Regions from separate parts of the Homo sapiens genome. Here region 2 is linked to region 1. Evidence: promoter capture Hi-C in 16 types of primary human blood cells and fetal thymus (Javierre and others, 2016). All regions are on one chromosome and are shown on one strand. The core of a region is centred on a gene start or on the middle of the fragment in contact, and the rest is flanking DNA. Distances in the headings are between cores, read along the strand shown. Region 1 holds the start of ATP10D (ATPase phospholipid transporting 10D (putative)). Region 2 overlaps GABRA4 (gamma-aminobutyric acid type A receptor subunit alpha4).

Region 1 (3,156 bases), core at 553-3,052:
TGTATTTTTAGTAGAGACGGGTTTCGCCATGTTGGTCAGGCTGGTCTCGAACTCCTGACCTCAGGTGATCCGCCTGCCTCGGCCTCCCAAAGTGTTGGGATTACAGGCATGAGCCACTGCGCCCGGCCCTATTCAATTCTATTTAGTCACTAAGTATGAAAAGTATTCAGGTTTTGCTAAGCCAGGGTCAAACACTCCCCACATCCTAGTTTAGAGTGCTTAGATTTTCCCTCTTTTTCATGCAATTTAATGAATGTTAAATTAGCATGAAAATTAAATGTTATTTTTAAACTCCCTAAAACTTTAAAATGTTGCTAAGTTATTTTTCCAAATGTATAAAATGACCTCATTTTAATAAAAATAAACTATCTCAATGTAGGTATATGATACGTATTTGTAGTGAGAATAGAAAACAGTCCAGAAGAAGCAGTTATTACTTTTTGAGGTGGATCGGAGTGGGAGGTTCTTGCTGCGGGCACTGAACAAACTACTCCGTTGCAATGATTTTTGCTCTTCACAAGTCAGCAAGGGTTTTCGATGATGCTATTCTTCACAGAAATGTGACCTACATGATTTAAAGGCTGATACAAGTAAATATTGGTGGATGAGGAGCCCCTGTCCTTGTTGATGCATCTCTCAAGGTTGATTTTGAGTTAGAGGTTTGCTCTGTCCATACAGACTTGTTTTTCTCCCTGCTTAGAACCAGCATGAAAAGAACGCAAGAAGAAACTTTGGTCTTATTCAGATCACATTTTAAAAACCTGAGCTAGCATGATAAGAGCAGTTAAAACATATTCTTTCTAAAGGCACAGGGTCCCAGACACCAAAATAACCATCCATTCCCTAACCAACTGATGTCTCTCTGCTGTACGTGGTAAATTAAAACTACATGTTTTACAACGTAAAATAAAGGGTGCCCCGAATAACAACTAGGTTCTTTAAAGTTAGTGTTTTGGGGGAAGCATGGGGGCTTCTTTGTAGCACTCCTTTGAAAACTATTTCCGAGAAAGCTCCAATACAAACACCTTTTTCTTCCTAAGGAATCAACCTTAGGGAATCAACCTTAAGGAATCAATCTGCTGGGCTAAATCTTCAACACCTTCCCTTTTCATCACCTTTGAGGCAGATAACCAAAATTTCTTTAAACTGCTTATTTCACAACGGGATGACAAAGGAGTGTGTGTGTGTGTGAATGCGTGTGTGTGCGTGCCCGTGTATGCCCGCGTGTACAAAGGTGTGTGAGAATGCGTGTATGTACGTGCCCGTGTGCGCCCGCGTGTGCAGTTTACCTTTTTACAAAATCCAGCATTTAAAATAGATTTTTAAATTCCCCTTTAACAAATGATTGAAAATGGTGTAATCATTTTATCTTTTGTTGTTTTTTTTTTTTAGTTCAGTAACAGCCCAGAACTGTAGTTTTGAGCCATGTCATCAAATCTAAACACGACTAGGGAAGTGGAGCGGGGAGAAACAGGAGAGAGAAACAGAAAGGAAAAGCGGGTGGGCGGTGAAGCAGAAGGCTGGGACAGTCAGAGGGATTCGCCGTCTCACTCTTACCAATTCCTCCCTCGGCACACATCACAGCATGTTGGTCACGAGTCGCAAGGTACAAGAAAAGAGCTAAGCACAAATTCGAAGAGTGAAAGCGGGTTGTGCTTCCACGCCAGCCATTTGCCTTCCGGGAAAAAAAAAAAATCACTTAGACATCTCCCAAACTCAGCTGCGGGAGCCAGCGCCGGAGCCTGTGCTGAGCTCGCAACCTACTTCTCCCTCCGCTCCTCCTCCCGTCTCCGCCAGGCTGCAGAGCAGCCCGAGCTGCAGTGCACCGCCAATCGCCCACCGCCCCGCCCTCCGTGACGTAGCAGCGGCAGGGCCTGGCAACTGACCGGCTCCCAGCTCCAGCTGTTTGACCGAGCTGCCCTTCTGCCCAGCGCAGATGCCCCAGTGACCCAGAGCCCTTACAATCTCACCTCTGACTTTCACCTCCCAAGTACAGGTTGCTCGCGGTTGACGGTTTGGTTCATTGTTTTGCTGCAATTCTAACAATTCACTGTTTTAGCTAAACGTGGAACACTGGACAATTATTTTTTGGAGGGTAAAAGAGATCAAATCTAAAAATGTCGCGCCACTGCATTCCAGCCTGGGCGACAGAGTGAGACCCTACCACAAAATAAATAAATAATATGTAATGTTACTGTTTTTATGACTAGAAAAGAAATGAGGAAAAATATTACAATTCTGATTTGGTCGTTTTCCTCACACCTTGCCCTTCCGTTCCCTTACTCAGGATAATGTGGCTTTGTCCATACACCTGCCAAGGTCCGTTTGCTTAAAATTCACAACTTTTTTTAAAACTTCTAAATAAGTTTCAACAACCTGTCTGGTTTCTCAAAATGTCTAATTTGGAAAGAGGAAAAGCCATTTAGTGAAGGCCGAACCAATAACTCAGAACAAAACCTAATAATCTTGGCTGCCTGTTTTATCCCATTGAAACAAATATAAAAAGTGGGGCCAAACTCTCCACAGCTCTCCTATATTGTGCCTCTCTCTTCCATTCTCTCAAGTGTTTCTCAGATGTGCAACAAGAGTGAAGAAAACTAAATGAGCATGCAAATGTTTGACTATTAGTAAAGAGCTCACCAGTACAGACACAGGGAGCTGGTTGGTCGGCTTGAAAATTCTCTCAGACCAAGAGAAGCCAAACAAGTTTCTGCACCCACTGAGAACGTGCTTCTGCCAGACGAGGAGAAACAAGTTCTGGGTGTGGCTTCCTATGATGCTCCATTAGGGAAGCCTCCATCTGCAGGTAAGGACAAATCTCTAGAACTTAGTCAAACTTAATCCCCAGAATTAACCCAGCCTAGTAGAATACACTGTCATTTACATGGCCTCTGAAATTCCTGGCCCTAGTAGCACTTTTTGCAGTCATATGACTGTCTCTAACATCCTTTAAGATGAAACACATTTCCTATCTGAGAGTCAACCTTATAGAGGAGACTTAAAACTGTAGCTGGGCCCCCCTGAGCTCTCCCAATCAAACACTGGTGTTGTTACCTCAGCAGAGGGCCTTCCTGGGAACGTACATACCAGGACAATTCAGGCATGTAGCCTGTTTGGATTGCTTAAATCAGTGGTTCTAACTAGCTACACATCAGA
Region 2 (3,048 bases), core at 534-3,033, 510 kb after region 1:
TATTAGAATGCTGTATTATGCATAGTAATGACTACTGTCATTATTGAGCACATTATGTTCTAGAGACTGGGACAAATGACTTACAAGTATTATCTCAATTAATACTCATTAATATCTTTACCTATGAGGATATGTGACTTGAAGATGATATTACTAGAAGATGTTAGAACCAAATTTGAACTCCAAACTTTCTGATTTTAAGCTTCATGCTAAACTCAGATTGTGTTAAACCCAGATTGTGTTCCCTTGTCTAAAATCTGTGTCAGCCATATTGTCATTATGCTCCCACATTTCTCTTCTGCCAAAACACCAGTGTGCTTCTTTACGAACTAGTCTTATTTAGATACGGGAAACAGTCTCAGTAGTGGCCACTGTCAGAAGCAAAGGGAACCTCACATGGAATGAGTACTTTCATGAGAGAGTCGTTTTGCTGAGCATCTTATTTCAGCAATTTCATTTGATCGCTATCAAAATCTTGCCTGATGGTTGTGGTGGCTACTATTGAGGAGTTAAATAACTTGCACAAGATTGTACAGCTAGTAGGTGGCAGAGTGTAAGTATCTGTCACTTGTAAGAAAGTTTGTCTTTGATCCCAATCAGCAGTGGATGGTGTGCTTGTTGATAAAGGTGACATGAATCATTTTTAAAATTATTTACTAGTATCCTCAGCTCTCCAAGGATACATTCCTTACAGCTGTTATGGTTTTTCTCTTCTTTGTTGCTGTGGCCACACTTCCCCTTTTTAACAGCTCACTTCTTTATTAGAGGCCAATCAGATGATGGACTATAAAATATCGCAAAGGTTAAAAGCTTTTGTGTCTCTGCATTGCCTGTTGTAACAGTACCCAGGGGTGACGTATCTTTGAAGAAACAAGGTTCCTGGTAAGTAATTGGGGTTTCTTTTTGCCTGTAAGTAAACACTGCTTTCTGGTCTTGTTGCGCTTTGGTCTACATTTGTTTTGTAGAGATTCATTATCTCACTGAAAATGTAAGATGCTTGTAAAAACATGATATATCATATCTGTATTTACTCTGTAATTATCTAACCTTCCCAGCCTGTAAAATTGGTAATTATTTTTTCACACTTATTTACTTCATACCCGTTAGGTCCTGTTACAGAAGTGAAAACTGACATATATGTCACCAGCTTTGGACCTGTTTCTGATGTTGAAATGGTAGGTATTTTCGAAGTTTAATGTACCTTTTGAGACTTGAAGAAAACATGTAGAAAAGAGGGCAATTAATATTTATTTTGTTGTCAATCACACAAAGCCAGAAACCTAAAGAATCCCTAATTAAACTTAAGAATGTATGAAGAGTAAGACATTGAATCTCATTCAATTTGCATTTCAGTTGTAACATTTGAGTACTTGTTGATTTAGGGTCATTCTAAACAAAGAGAAGAACTTTCCTATTACTGGTTCCTATAGCACAACCTAGGGTGCAGCTTTTTTGCTTTCCTTTTTACTTTTCTTTTCTTTCTTTCTTTTTCTTTTTTTTTTTTTTTTTTTTTTTTTTGAGATGAAGTTTTGCTCTTGTTGCCCAGGCTGGAGTACAATGGCGGGATCTTTGCTCACTGCAACCTCCATCTCCCAGGTTCAAGTGATTCTCTTGCCTCAACCTCCCAAGTAGCTGGGAATGCAGGCATGCCCCACCGTGCCTGGCTAATTTTGTGTTTCTAGTAGAGATAGGGTGTCTCCATGTTGGTCAGGCTGGTCTCGAACTCCTGACCTCAGGTGATCCTCTCACCTTAGTCTCCCAAATTGCTGGGATTACAGGCATGAGCCACCGTGCCCGGCTGTTTTTTCTTTAGGAAACTATTGAGGAGGAGAAAATTAGAGGTGATAATTAGTTTCAGTATGAACTAGTCGTGTACACTATTTTATAGTTTTCATTATATTTAGTATTTCATGTTGATCTAATTGCTTGCTGCCCATCCCAGCCCTTCTGCCTCCTTCTCACTCATGTTTAAGAGCTTAGAATACGAAGCACTGGTCAGGAAGAATTCATCCATACAGTTGTGCTCTCTTATATTAAATATATTTAGTTTGCAAGACAAAAAACTTACTTTAGTTTATTCATTGATTTAAAGCTCCTAGTAATTTGAAACCCTTGAGTTATTTGACTCATTTTAATAAACTTTGTGAAAATAAAATATCTCTTACACATATTATTTTGTCTTTAAAATGCCTACAATTACACGATTAATTGTGCATGATATTTTTTACACTTTAACTGATTTTTGCTATCTAGTCTAAAGTAAAACACAATTGTAACTACCTGGTACTGGCAGTTTTCTTAAATTATAGCAAATTTATTATTAAATTATTAGTATGTGTGGTAATTTATTTATCTTATGAATGTAGAAGATGAAGGTATCAAGATGGATAAAAGTTATTCTAATTGCTGAGAATCTTTTTGCTCCATTGATTCAAGATCATTCCTGCTCCTATTAATTTTATTTGGAGTGGTATTTTTTTATGAGCATGAAGGAAGACAGAATTTAATGCATTATTTTCACATACTTATGTGTAGTCATTTGCAACTTAAATATGTTCCAAAATAATTGTCCTAGGAATACACAATGGATGTGTTCTTCAGGCAGACATGGATTGACAAAAGATTAAAATATGACGGCCCCATTGAAATTTTGAGATTGAACAATATGATGGTAACGAAAGTGTGGACCCCTGATACTTTCTTCAGGAATGGAAAGAAATCTGTCTCACATAATATGACAGCTCCAAATAAGCTTTTTAGAATTATGAGAAATGGTACTATTTTATACACAATGAGGTAATATTTTTTTTTACTTCTTCCCTTCCTTTTTTATTCTTTTCTTTCTTTCCTTTCCTTTCTTCCTTCCTTCCTTCCTTCCTCCCTCCCTTCCTCCCTCCCTTCCTCCCTCCCTTCCTCCCTCCCTTCCTCCTTCCCTTCCTTCCTTCCTTTTCTTCCCTCCCTTCTTCCTTCCTCCTTCCCTCCCTTCCTTCCTATTTTAGAATCTAAAGTCACAATTATTCTTTAAAAGGGTTGATTTTATTTAATTGC

What was found. Contacts are between HindIII fragments. The CHiCAGO score rates a contact against its expected background, and 5 or more counts as called.
Region 2: a fragment that was not itself captured here is called in contact with the fragment with the promoter of ATP10D in region 1 in 1 of 17 cell types (M2 macrophages); the score reaches 5.7 in M2 macrophages.

Annotation. Positions count from the first base shown.
Region 1 is chr4:47,483,921-47,487,076 of GRCh38, reverse strand. It overlaps ATP10D (ATPase phospholipid transporting 10D (putative)), which reads right to left and starts at 1,802. Exons shown (of 23, transcript NM_020453.4): 1 at 1,558-1,802. RefSeq lists enhancers at 1,630-1,699, 1,671-1,965. The HindIII fragment of the contact is 11,274 bases long and covers 1-3,156 here.
Region 2 is chr4:46,977,158-46,980,205 of GRCh38, reverse strand. It overlaps GABRA4 (gamma-aminobutyric acid type A receptor subunit alpha4), which reads left to right. Exons shown (of 9, transcript NM_000809.4): 3 at 1,108-1,175; 4 at 2,576-2,796. Among named protein-coding and RNA genes, the nearest start is that of GABRA4, 15 kb to the left of the region's middle. The HindIII fragment of the contact is 1,942 bases long and covers 813-2,754 here.